Regions from separate parts of the Homo sapiens genome. Here region 2 is linked to region 1. The links are contacts of gene promoters, found by promoter capture Hi-C in human tissues and cell types (Jung and others, 2019). All regions are on one chromosome and are shown on one strand. Each heading gives the region's core, a stretch centred on a gene start or on the middle of the fragment in contact. The rest is flanking DNA. Distances are from core to core; before and after follow the strand shown. Region 1 holds the start of MRPS25 (mitochondrial ribosomal protein S25). Region 2 holds the start of CAPN7 (calpain 7).

Region 1 (6,986 bases), core at 2,286-4,785:
TGAGTCCAGAGAGTGAGCAAGATCTAATTGCCTGGAGCAGAAGCCACGGGAGCCATAGCTAGTAGGAAAACTTAAATGGTAATTTTGATGAACTGCTGGAGGTTGAGTGTGGACTAGCATGGGAGGGAGCAACTCCCCCTCACCCCCAACGCTTTCCTGGGTTTTACCCTACTTGGTTCTATTGGTGAAGAGCTGAGGAAGACCCTCTGGTGACTCTGGCAGGGGAAAGGGAGAATCATCTTTGTAATCAGAGCCTTCTCCATAATAAAGCTTATTCCCCAGAGGAAAGCACTTTTTCACAGAGCCTTATCCATCTGGAGGAGGGCTGGGTCATGTAAGGGGGTACAAAGGGGAACTAAGAAACACTTGTGGGCCAGTGCGGTGGCTCACGCCTGTAATTCCAGCACTTTGGGAGGCCAAGGTGGGCAGATTGCTTGAGCCCGGGAGTTCAAGACCAGTCTGGGCAATATAGCAAAACCTCATCTTTACAAAAAATACAAAAATTAACCAGGCATTGTGGCACATGCCATAGTCCAAGCTACTCGGGGCTGAGGTGGGAGAATTGCTTGAGCCTGGGAAGTAGAGGCTGCAGTGAGCTGTGATTGCGCCACTGTACTGCGCTCTAGCCTGGGTGATAGAGCAAGACACTGCCTCAAAAAAAAAAAAAAAAAAGAAAAAGAAAAAAAAAGGAAAGAACACTTGTGTAGGTCACAGCCCAAGGACACAAGCCCACTAAAATGCTGAGATTTAATCGTAAGATTATAGAATGCTTCACCTCCCCCATGTTTTTCCACCACATCAACAGGACTCCAGGATAGTAACAGTGAATTATACCTGGAAGAGCTGCAAGACACGGACTCTCTCAGGAGGAATATCGAGGGAAGCCCAAAGGCAAGAGGAGATAAACACAAAGACACTAGAGGAACTGGAAGCCTCTGACACCTACAGCTATGGCAAACATTAAACACAGCTCTCAACTCTGAGCCAGATTAACATAAGTTCTCATTCTAGAGGCTTATTTACCCCAGTTCCTATGGCCCAATAGAGTGGATATTCTACCTTCAACAAAAAAATTATAAGCATGCTAAAAGGCAAGGAAAAAAATAAACCCAACAATCAGATGAAACAAAGCAAACATCAGAATCACACTCAGATATTGGAATTATCAGACAAGAAATTTAAAATGTGGTCTGTTAAGGGGTCTAATGGTAAAAGTAAACAACATACAAGAACAGATGGGTAATGTAAACAGACATAAGAAAACTAAGAATCATGCGAGGTGTGGTGGTTCACACTTGTAATCCCAGCAGTTTGGGAGGCTGAGGCAGGCAGATCACTTGAGGTCAGGAGTTTGAGACCAGCCAGGCCAACAAGGTGAAACCCCATCTCTACTAAAAATACAAAAATTAGACTGGGCACAGTGGCTCATGACTGTAATCACAGCACTTTGGGAGGCCAATGCGGGTGGATCACGAGGTCAGGAGTTCAAGACCAGCCTGGCCAACATGGTGAAACCCTGTCTCTACTAAAAATACAAAAACTAGCTGGGTGTGGTGGTGGGCACCTGTAATCTCAGCCACTTGGGAGGCTGAGGCAGGAGAATCATTTGAACCTGGGAGGCAGAGGTTGCAGTGAGCCAAGATAGTGCCATTGCACTCCAGCCTGGGTGACAGAGCGAGACTTCGTCTCAAAAAAAAAAAAAAAAAAAATTAGCCAGGCATGGTGGTGTGCACCTGTAGTCCCAGCTAAGTGGCAGAGGTGGGAGAATTGCTTGAGCCCAGGAGGTAGAGGTTGCAGTGAGCAGAGATTGCACCAGTGCACTCCAGGCTGGGTGACAGAGACTTTGTCTCAAAACAAACAAACAAACACCCTAAGAATCAAAAGGAAGTGCTAGAAGTTAAAACCTTAAATGAAAAATGCCTTAATGGGCTTATCAGTAGACTGTCCATAACCAAAGATTAAATGAATTTGAAGATAGGTCAACAGAAACTTCCCCACTAAAATGCAAAGAGAACCTCCATCACCCCGCCAGAACATTCGAGAACTATGAGGCAATTCCAGAAGACATAAAATGCATTTAACTTGAATACTAGAAAGAGAAAAGAGTGAAGAATAAATACCTGAACTAATAAATGGCTAAGAACTTTACAAAATTAATGACAGACATGAAATCACAGATCCAGGAGGCTCAGAGGACTCCAAGCAGGACAAATACAAAACATCTACAGATCTGCATTACCTTATTCTAACCCCGTAAACCAAACACCAAGAGAAAATTTGAAAGAAGCTAAAGGAAAAAGCCATCATACCTATAAATGTAATTGCATTTAATTACTTGTTTGAAACCATGCAAGCAAAAAAAGAGTGGAGTGAACTATTTAAATTGTTGAAAGAAAAACACCAGGGCCAGGCGCAGTGGCTCACGCCTGTAATCCCAGCACTTTGGGAAGCTGAGACGGGCGGATCATCTGAGGTCAGGAGTTTGATACCAGCCTGACCAACATGGAGAATCCCCGTCTCTACTGACAATACAAAATTAGCTGGGTGTAGTGGCGCATGCCTGTAAGTCCGGCTACTCGGGAGGCTGAGGCAGGAGAATCACTTGAACCTGGGAGGCGGAGGTTGCGGTGAGCCAAGATAGCACCATTGCACTCCAGAAGGGAGGGAGGGAAAGGAAAAACACTAACCTAGAATTCTAAATCTGGCAAAATCACTCTTCAAAAGAGAAGGAGAAATACCTTTCAGATCAAGAGTACTTCAGAAATGTATCTTTTTTTTTTTTGAGAGGGAGTCTTGCTCTGTCGCCCAGGCTGGAGTGCAGTGGCGCGATCTCGGCTCACTGCAACTTCCCGGGTTCGAGCGATCCTCCCACCTCAGTCTTCTGAGTAGCTGGGACCACAGGTGCTGCCACCACACCAGGCTAATTTTTGTATTTTCAGTAGAGACGGGGTTTCGCCATGTTGGGCAGGCTGGTCTCGAATTCCTGACCTCAAGCGATCCTTCCGCCTCGGCTTCCCCAAAGGCTGGGTTTACAGGCGGGAGCCACCGCGCCTGGCCCTAGAAATACATCTCACCCATAGTTTGTTTACGAAAAAATTGAGGTCCTGAGTTAAGTGGCTGAATTTAGGAAGGAATTGATCCCAAACCATCTTTTTTTCTTTTGCTAAGAAGTTTAAGTCAACGTCAGAAAGTGCAGTTTGAACTCTTCATGATAAAACTGGAGATGTTTGGGGAGAAAAATGGACAATACGTTCAATAGGACGTTATCAGCTGACTTGGTATCCAAACTGAGCTTTCCTGATTATTTCTTATTGCAATGTCTGACTTTTAGCCTATGTAAAAATATTTTCCCGTGGGTGGATGGGGAAATGACTAATTTACAGGACGCGACAACCTAAACCTTCCAAGGGGAAGGCGTCCTAAAGCGAAGCTGCACACACCGGTTCTCGCCGCGCCGGGTCGAAGGCCGCCTACAAGTCCCAGAGTGCTCCGCGGCGTGCGCTGCCCGCCGGGAAGCGTCTCCTGTGCGTCTGCGCGGGAAGTGGAACCTGGCTCTGGGGAGAAGCCGCGTGAGATCCGCGCGGGTGCTAGCTAGTCCTTTCTCGTCGCTGCTCGGCTCGCGGCCCGTGGGGTCGGCCCCGCCACCGTTGCCGCCATGCCCATGAAGGGCCGCTTCCCCATCCGCCGCACCCTGCAATATCTGAGCCAGGGGAACGTGGTGTTCAAGGACTCCGTGAAGGTCATGACAGTGAATTACAACACGCATGGGGAGCTGGGCGAGGGCGCCAGGTCAGTCGCAGCCCCGGCCGCCTGGCGAGCCGTAACCTGCTAGTCGTGCCAGCCTGCTGGTAACGTGAGGTCCCGAGTCGCTCTGGGCGGCCGTTCATCCCCGGGGCGGGCCCCCCAGGTCGGCGCTGTTACCCCCATTTTACAGAGGTCCAGACTGAGGCGGACGGCGGGGCCCCCGCCGGGCCGGCTGCAGTCGTGACGAGGTTTGGGGGGCGGAGGACAAGAACCCCACTCCTGGATCTCCTTCCTCCGGCGCGGTGGGCGAGGCTGACCCGAGGGAGGCCACCAGTTCCCTTGGCCCCTCTGGCCAGCAAGGCAAGCGCTGGGGAGGGGCAGCCGCAGATCCTTTCGGGGTGACGGGGGTGACACCCCAGGACGAATCTGAGGATAAAATGAGAGAAATAACAGCGGCGAACACTGATCATATCTCGCACAGTTCTGAATGCTTCTCGCGCTTTCTTTTTTCTGATGCCTAGAGAAACCCCAGCTTATCCCCACTCTAAGGCTGGGGAAGCGCACAGAGAGGTTAAGTAACTTGCAGCTCCACGAGACACCATGCCAGCCGGTGAGCGGTGAGCCGGGCAGTGTGGCCGCTTCCTTCGGGACTCAAGGTTTGGAAGGAAGTGATTAATTATGTCAGCTGTGCAGCGGCAGACCCTACCCCGACTAGAAGGAACTGTAGGGAACGCCTAGGATGTCTTTCAGCTTGGAGCAGAGTAGGGACTCATTGAATGGCAGTTGGCAAGTGAAAGGTTTGGATTGACCCTGAGGCAGCCCTAAGCAGTGCCTTAGGCTCTGCAGGTATGAAGTCTACATTTATTGAGTACACTCTGAGTGCTAGGCTGTGTGCTGTGTGCTGGGAGTTCAGCAGTGATGGAGGAGGCAGCCTTAGCCCGCAGAAACTTTGGGACTTGGGTGTATGTTGGATCAAAATGAGGCGTGGGGGCGGGGAGCAACTTCTTGTGGGGCATGGTCCCCTTGGTGACGGACCTTCACTGCATGGCCCTTCAAGAGATCCGGAAGCCGCTTCCTAGCCATTTGCTCTGCGCAGGTGAATCTGATAACTTGGACCTGCTTGCCTGGAATCAGCTGGCTTGATGGCTTCCTGGAAGACTTGGTCTTGGTCTTAGGGTGTATGGGCACCCAGATACTCCTTCATAACCTACTGCACAACTGTGCACACCTTTGTCCCCGGGCAACTGCCAGGCAGATAATGGGAAGGGGTGGGGGTCTCGGTGCGGCCCGCAGCGAGCTGGAGAGCACATGCCCTATCCAGAGGGCCCTTCACTGTTTGGCATTGTGGGCTCCGTGGAGAATTTCTCATTTGTCAAGAAGCTGAAATCTAGGTTTTTATGTAAATCTCTGGCTTTTAAATGGCCAGCCAATCAAAATAAGCCTGTGAGCCTCTTACTTACATTCTCAGATATTTTAATGTCCTCTAGGTAAATGGGATACAAACAGCCATTCACTGTTTCTTTGTTCCTGGTGGTAGGGGCTGGCCTGTGCCACCTGTGCCCTCTGTGATCTTGTACCCGTGGGTTGGAGTCTGTCTGCCTTGCTCTGGCTAGCCGCAGTCCTCCCCCAATCCCCAGCCCTTGTTTGTTCATGTGCCCTCAGCCCTTCAGCTGCCCCACTGGGACCTACCTCCATCCCAAGTGCCTGCGACCGGTCCAGCCAGTCTTTGGGTACCTGCTGGGGGCAATGGGAAGGTGCCTTATTTAGTATTTGAGGGCCAAGTCCTTACTCACCTCTGCCAGGTGTTCTACCCTGAACAAGTGGTCCCCAAGCCTCAGGGTGAATTTGATGGTGACAGAACAGTGTGATCGAAGGCCAGACTAATCAGCCCAGTTAGACCTGGGGCAGTTTACTTAACTTCTGACCTTAGTTTCCTTAAATTGTAAAACCCCACCTTCTGGGGTTGGAGAGTCAGGTGCCTAGCAAAGTGTCTGGCATATACAGCAGTTGCTCAACTCAAGGTTCCTGCCATTATTAACTTTCTTTTTTTTTTTTTTTCAATTGATCATTCTTGGGTGTTTCTCGCAGAGGGGGATTTGGCAGGGTCATAGGACAATAGTGGAGGGAAGGTCAGCAGATAAACAAGTGAACAAAGGTCTCTGGTTTTCCTAGGCAGAGTGTTTGTGTCCCTGGGTACTTGAGATTAGGGAGTGGTGATGACTCTTAACGAGCATGCTGCTTTCAAGCATCTGTTTAACAAAGCACATCTTGTACCGCCCTTAATCCATTTAACCCTGAGTGGACACAGCACATGTTTCAGAGAGCACAGGGTTGGGGGTAAGGTCACAGATCAACAGGATCCCAAGGCAGAAGAATTTTTCTTAGTACAGAACAAAATGAAAAGTCTCCCATGTCTACCTCTTTCCACACAGACACGGCAACCATCCGATTTCTCAATCTTTTCCCCACCTTTCCCCCCTTTCTATTCCACAAAACTGCCATTGTCATCATGGCCCGTTCTCAATGAGCTGTTGGGCACACCTCCCAGATGGGGTGGTGGCCGGGCAGAGGGGCTCCTCACTTCCCAGTAGGGGCGGCCGGGCAGAGGCGCCCCTCACCTCCTGGACGGGGCGGCTGGCCGGGCAGGGGGCTGACCCCCCCCACCTCCCTCCCGGATGGGGCGGCTGGCCGGGCGGGGGGCTGACCCCCCACCTCCCTCCCGGACGGGGCGGCCTGGCCGGGCAGAGGGGCTCCTCACTTCCCAGTAGGGGCGGCCCGGGCAGAGGCGCCCCCTCACCTCCTGGACGGGGCGGCTGGCCGGGCGGGGGGCTGACCCCCTGACCTCCCCTCCCGGACCGGGCGGCTGGCCCGGGCCAGAGGGGCTCCTCACTTCGCATTAGGGGCGGCAGGCAGAGGTGCCCCTCACCTCCCAGTACGGGGCGGCTGGCCGGGCGGGGGGCTGACCCGCCGCACTCCCTCCCGGATGGGGCGGCTGGCCGGGCGGCTGAGCCCCCTACCTCCCTCCCAGACGGGGCGGCTGGCCTGGCGGGGGCTGACCCCCAACTCCCTCCCGGACGGGGCGGCTGCCGGGCGGAGACGCTCCTCACTTCCCAGACGGGGCGGCTGCCGGGCGGAGGGGCTCCTCACTTCTCAGACGGGGCGGCTGCCGGGCGGAGGGGCTCCTCACTTCTCAGACAGGGCGGCTGCCGGGCGGAGGGTCTCCTCCCTTCTCAGACGGGGTG
Region 2 (6,986 bases), core at 4,487-6,986, 140 kb before region 1:
TAATAGTAATTTTTTTCATAAAGTAGTTATACAATCTTCCAATGTTTTCTTCAGTATTCAATGTTCTCAATTTTCTTTTACTTTTCTTTTTTGAGACAGAGTTTTGCTCTGTCACCCAGGCTGGAGTGCAGTGGTGTGATCTCAGCTCAGCTCAACCTCCCCAGGTTCAAGTGATTCTTGGGCCTCAGCCTCCCGAGTAGCTGGGACTATAGGTGTACACCACCATACCTGGTTAATTTTTGTATTTTTAGTAGAGATTGGGTTCTGCCATGTTGGCCAGGCTGGTCTTGAACTCCTGGCCTCAAGTGATCTGCCCACCTCGGCCTCCCAAAGTGCTGGGATTACAGGCATGAGCCACCACACCTGGCCCAAATCATACTTTTTTTTTTTTGGCTTTTTCAAAGATAGAGTCAGAATTAGGTGCTAAAAGCCACAGGACACGCCCAAACAGGAACTTGAACCCTGGACCCTCACATTAAAAGTCTGATGATGCTCTACCGAAGGAGCTATCCAGGCTCTCTCTCAATTTTAACATATCATTGAAAATTTATGAATTCACGCATAAGGAACTGATTATAAACACTTCTTTAGAATAGCTGCAGTTTACATGTTTCGTTTTCCTTTTTCCTTATGCAATAGATCAGATTTAAAATTATATACCTTGAAAATGTGAACTGATTGCAAGTAATTCACACGCAAAAAAATATGAATTGAGCCTTCAAAGCATTAAAACGAGTAATAATTGCTAAAATAAAATTATCAAGAAAAGATTACAGGAGATTACACAGGTTAAATATCTCACAGTAAAAGGAAAACAGTTTTCTCCACAGAAAATACTGACAAAGGATGACACATTTTAAAGCAGATTTTAGTTGTATAAATTACACTTATTTTAATTTTAAGAAAATCTGGATTCTTCTTCCAGTTATTCCATAACTTCCACGACCAGTTATGCTATGGCTAGAAGGTGGTGTTTCCATTCTCCTCATCACCATTCCAGGAAGGTTACCAATGCTACCACCTAGAAAAGCAAAGACAGATTTCTACAAGTAACAGCACCTTCTCTGCAGTAACCCAAGCGTGTACACTTCATGGGTCATCATGCCTGTTTCCAAAGATGCCATCTACTGAACATCACTTTTTGAATCCAGTTGTTTGAGCAGGAGTTGTTTCACTGAACCTAACAAAATTAAGAAAAGTGCAGTTTTCAGCCTGGGCAACATGGTGAAACCCTGTCTCTACAAAGTAGTCCCAGCTACTCAGGAGGCTGAGGCGGGAGGATCACCTGAGCCCTGGGAGGTGGAGGCTGCAGTGAGCTGTGATCGGGCCACTGCACTCCAGCCTGGGTGACAGAGTAAGATACTGTCCAAAAAAAAAAAAAAAAAGGAAGGAAGCAAGGAAGGAATGAAAAAGTACAGTTTTGACTACAATGAAAATTCAGCCTAAAGGCAGTGGGATAGAAAAGATATGACTTCCTTAGATTCTATAACTATTTCAGAGGAGGAAAGTATAACTTTACATGTAAACATTAAATATATCTTACATACCATCATTATCTAAATACATTGTAACTACACTTAAATCCAATAAACGGAATGTTTTTGATACATGTAAATTATATAAGTATATAATACACATATATTGCCCCTTCAGTTATCTTGTATGTGATTATTAATTTCCAAATAATTATTGTACTTTTTAAAAAAAGCTATTTTTTTTACTTAGGAGTCTGAGGCAGGAGGACTGCTTGAGGCCAGGAGTTCAAGACTAACTGGGCAACATAGTGAAATCCCCATTTCTGGAAAAAAAAAAAATTAGCCAGGTATTGTGGTGCACACCTGTAGTCCCAGCTACTCAGGAGGCTGAGGCTGGAAGATTGTTTTAGCCCAGGAGTTTGAGGCTGCAGTGAGTTATGATCTCACCACTGCCCGCCAGCCTGGGTGACAGAATGAGACCCTGTCTCTGAAAAATAAAATAAAGCCAATTTAAAAAACTGCTGGTGTCAATTTTATTTTACTCATTTCATTTATATTCAAAACTGACAAGAAATAAATAGCTTATAGAAAGGACTGGGCAGAAAACACTAAATACTAAACTGATGAAGCTTATATAAATAATTTCTAGAAGTACAACCACTTTTTTTGGCTTTCTCAAAGATAAAAAATTCTTCCTGACATGTATGTAAGTCTATAGGAAACAAGGGGCAGTGCATAGCAGTTTCTTTTGCTTTAATAAAATCTATTTTTATATAGCACTATTTTAACCTGTTGTCAAAGCTATTTCACAAAACACACACAATTTTTCTCTTAAACAATGCCTTGTGAAATTGTCAAAAAAGTCTAAAAGGATTCTGAAATGCACCAAAACTCTCTAAACATAAAGCAGATTATAATAGAATGAGACCTACTGTTAAGATAGATCACAGGGTGACCAGAGTTTATAATATTTGATTGTACATTTCAAAATAGCTAGATTAATTCAAATGTTCCTAGCATAAATATTAAGGGAATAATATTCAGTAATAAAAGCTGCACAGTTCAGCTGTGAAGTAGTTAAGGTGATGGCTATCCCAAGTATGCTGATTTATCTTTACAAATTATATTAATGTATTAAATTATCACATGTACCCTGAAACTATGTACATTACCTATCAATAAAAAAAGAAAAAAATAGGCTGGGGGCGGTGGCTCATGCCTATAATCCCAGCACTTTGGGAAGCCGAGGCAGGTGGATCACCTGAGGTCGGGAGTTTGAGACCAGCCTGACCAACATGGAGAAACCCGGTCTCTACTAAAAATACAAAATTAGCCGGGGGTGGTGGTGCATGCCTGTAATCCCAGCTACTCAGGAGGCTGAGGCAGGAGAATCACTTGAACCCACGAGGTGGAGGTTGCAGCGAGTCGAGATTGTGCTATTGCACTCCAGCCTGAGCAACAAGAACAAAACTCCGTCTCAAAAAAAAAGGAAAAAAGATTATAAAATGAAAGCAACAAAATATTAATCTGAAACAAACCACACTTTATTGACAGCACATACATTTGTGAAAAAAAGTACTACTATTGTACAGTATTATCAAAGTCTGATAATCTTTCTAAAAGAAAAGGTGACACTATCATGAGGACACAGCTCCCTCCAAATCTAGCTAGAGCTAGAGGGGTATATTTGCAAATCCTCAGAATTGGAGAGAAGAGAGTGGACCATGGAAGCTCATACCCTTTGATTTATCAATTCTGTCCCCGGTAATTTATCCCAAAGAAAATTCAGGCAAAAATTTGCACTAGTCATAAGAATTAGTTATAAAGATATGAACTACATCGTTACTTATGATGTTGAAAAAACAAAATCAACTGAATGCCCAAGAGTCTGTAAATTAATTATAGTACACTGGACAGGCACAGAGGCTCACGCCTGTAATTCCAGCATTTTGGGAGACTGAGGCAGGAAGATCGCTTGACCCAGGAGTTCGAAACCAGCCTGGGCAACACAGCGAGACTCCATTTCTACACAAAAAAAAAAAAAAAAAAAAAATTAGCCAAGTGTGGTTGTGTCTACCTGTAGTCCCACCAATTGGGAGACTGAGGCAGGAGGATTGCTTGAGCTTTGCAGTTTGAGGCTGCAATGAGCTATTATTAGTGGGCCACGGCACTCCAGGCTGAGTGACAGGGCAAGACGCTGTCTCTTAAAAAAAAAAATATGGTACACCCACATAATGAACTACTGTGCAGCTATTACTAAAAACAGTATAAACCAGTTTGTAAAAAAAAAAAAAAAGCATATACACATACGCATAAAAAAACACAAAAATATAGTCACACACCACATAACATTTCAGTCAACAACAGACTGAATATATGATAGTGGTCCCCTAAGATTATAATGGAGTTGAAAAATTCCTATTGCCTGGTCATGTCATAGCCATCATAATGTCATAGCACAACACTTTACTCGCATGTTTGTGGTGATGCTGATGTAAACAAACCTACTGGGGTGCCAGTGGTGTAAAAGTCTACCACACACAATAATGTAGAGTACATAATACTTGATAATCAACAACTATGTTACTGGTTTATGTATTTACTATGCTATACTATGTACTGTTAGTATACTCCTTTTATAAAAAAAAGTTAACTATAAAACAGTCTCTGACATGTCCTTCAGGAGATATTTCAAGAGACATTGTTATCATAGGAGACGACAGTTTCATTCCTGTTATTGCTCCTGAAGACCTCCCAGTGGGACAAGATTGGAGGTGGAAGACAGTAATATTGATGATCCTGACGAGGTGTAGGCCTAGGCTAACGTGTGCCTTAGTTTTTAACTAAAGAATAAAAAAAAAAAAAGAAACAAAAAAACTTACCAAATAAAGATATAAAGAAAATGTTTGTGTAACTGCACAATAAGTTCGTTTTAAGCTATTACAAAAGAGTTAAAAAGTTAAGAAAATTTAGAAGTTTATAAAGTAAAAGGGTTACCGTAAGCTAAGGTTAGTTTATTACTGAAGAAAGATTAAAAAAATTTAGCGTAGCCTAAGGGTACACTGCTTATAAAGTCTACAAGAGTAGAGCAGTGAATGTCCCAGGCCTTCACATTCACTCACCACTACTCACCAACTCAGAGCAACTTCCAGTCCTGCAAGCTCCTTTTGTGGGTAAGTGCCCCACACTGGTGTAGTATTTTTTTTTTATCTTTTATGCTGCATGTTTACTGTACCTTTTCTATGTTTAGATGCACAAATACTTACCACTGCATGTAACTGCACACACCACTGAGTACAGCAACACGCTGCGCAGGCCTGTAACCTAGGAGCAACAGGCCATGCCATACAGCTTAGGTGTGGAACAGGCTGTACCATTCAGGCTTGTGTAAGCGCTTTCTACGGTGTTCGCACAACAACAAAATGGCCTAAGAACACATTTCTCAGAAAATATCACATCGCTAAGGACGCATGACTGTATGTCAAATGCTATGACAGGAGATGGTTTTTATTCTTTTTAAGTTTATTTAACGAGCATGCATTATTTTGATATATATCACAGGCCATTTCCCGCTAGCTGTAAATCAGAGTCAAGTGACAGCAAGAATTGGCTACTAACTACCCATATCTAACACCTGCCCCCCAAAGCGGCTCAACGGTGGGCATTTGCCAGTCAGGACTACAGGTGGAGGAGCGGCGGCTGCAAGCCGCGACCCAGCCTCCCCGCAGCCTCAGCGTCGGCCTCTGCACTCGGGCTTGCCGCTCCCAACAAGAGGAGGGCCGGGAGGCGGACGAGGGAAAAGCAAAGCCGGGGCCGCTAGCCTCCGCACCCGGATCCCGCCCCTCGGCCGCAGGCCCGGGCCGCACTCCGACTGAGCAACTCCGACCGAAGCGCCGGGCCCGGCCCTACCTTGTAATAAAACACCGCCTCGGAGTAGCGGCCTTCGTGGTCGCGCTGAACCGCCAGACGGGCGAACTGCACAGCGTCCCGCTCCAGTGCTGTGGCGTCCATGGCGCAGTGGCCCCGCGCCGGGGCAGGGAAGGAGGCCCTGACGCAGGACGGCTCTTCGCGGACTGCGGCGGCCCGGCGGCGGCGAGGACTCGGGAGCGCCGCGGAAGGAGCGGCAAAGTTTACTTTGGACGGTGGAGGAGAGCTCGCCTTCCCGTTGCCGGGCTGGGGTCCACCGCGAAGCCGCGCCCCTCAGCCCAGACCCGGCTTGTAGCCCACCCGGCCGCCCCACTTCGCGGCCCCAGCGGCCCTCGCCCCGCCCACCAGCCGCCCGACGCAGGCGCAGCCTGGCCCTCACGAGCTCCTTAGAAGCTGGGGCCGCCGAGGCCAGGCTCGCGGGACTGCGCGGGCTGTGGGCGGGGCCGGGCCCACGCAGGAGCCGGGCCGCGGGGGCGGGGCAAAAAGGCCTGCCGCTGTGCACGTGACCGTCGCGGCGCCCGGGATTGAGCAGCTGAGGGCAGGTGCCACGTCCGAGCTGCCCACACACCGCCTTATGCGTGGCGGTGGCGGTGCAGGGCGAGGCTGTTTTCGTCGACAGTGGGCAGTAGAGGGGTACGCGCCTTACAGATCCTTTCCTCTGTTAAGTGTAAGGGATGGGAGTAAAGAGCTAAGGAAGAATGCCTCCCACCAGCATCTGACACATTAAAAAAATTACCGTGAGGACAGAGGTTCTTTAGAGTCACTCTTCGCTAACATTTATTTTCATTTGTTTTCCACAAGCTGAATCATGACCCTATAGCCCCCCACTGTACACCAAGGTCGTATTGATTGAATTGTTAACAAACAAGGTAATGTATTTCCACTTGTACTTACCCTTAGGTTAACTTGATGCTGTTGTAATTAAATACTTAATTAGGTGATTATTTGATTTATGTCTTCTCTCCCCTAAAGGTCTGAAGTCAGCAGTAATAAAAATGAATTAGTGATGGGCACCACCAAATTCATGCTGAGTCAAAGAAGTAAGAATTGAGTACATAATGTATAATTCCATCTATAAGAAACACTAGAAAACACTACGATGTTAGAAAGCAGATCAGTGGTTGGGAAGGGGATACAAAGGAATCTTTTCGGATGATGAGAATGTTTTATATCTCAATGGTGGTGTAAAAATATATACGTTTGTCAAAACTTATCAAACTACATTTTAAGTGTGTACTTTTAATTTTTTAATTATACTCTAAATTTTTTTTCAGTCATTTGGCCTGCATTTAAAATGGGACTCTAATTTCTTAGTTTAAGTGTATTTCTTCACATTTAGTGAAGTTCTTAATAACAACGGTCTCATCAGGCTGTTATAAAGACACACAGAATTTGATTTTGTGCCTGGCCCAAAGATGGCTCTCAAAGGTAGCAACTACAGTTTTATAGCTGAAGCAGGGATGCTTCCTGTCTTTACCACTTTGATCCCAGCGTTGAGCGCAAGCCTTGTTCCAGAGCAGGTGTTCAACAAATATTTTAAAATGTTGAATGAGTCAACTCCACTACTTAAATATATCTAATGTG

Evidence for each region. Contacts are between HindIII fragments. The study calls those that stand out against the background at their distance.
Region 2: a contact is called between the fragment with the promoter of CAPN7 here and the fragment with the promoter of MRPS25 in region 1, in 1 of the 25 tissues and cell types used here (thymus).

Annotation. Positions count from the first base shown.
Region 1 is chr3:15,061,864-15,068,849 of GRCh38, reverse strand. MRPS25 (mitochondrial ribosomal protein S25) reads left to right here and starts at 3,535. Exons shown (of 4, transcript NM_022497.5): 1 at 3,535-3,789. The coding sequence starts at 3,656. RefSeq lists an enhancer at 3,376-3,555. The HindIII fragment of the contact is 13,424 bases long and covers 1-6,986 here.
Region 2 is chr3:15,204,996-15,211,981 of GRCh38, reverse strand. CAPN7 (calpain 7) reads right to left here and starts at 5,736. Exons shown (of 21, transcript NM_014296.3): 1 at 5,385-5,736. The coding sequence starts at 5,486. It also overlaps the pseudogene COL6A4P1. RefSeq lists a silencer at 5,511-6,030. The HindIII fragment of the contact is 9,772 bases long and covers 1-6,986 here.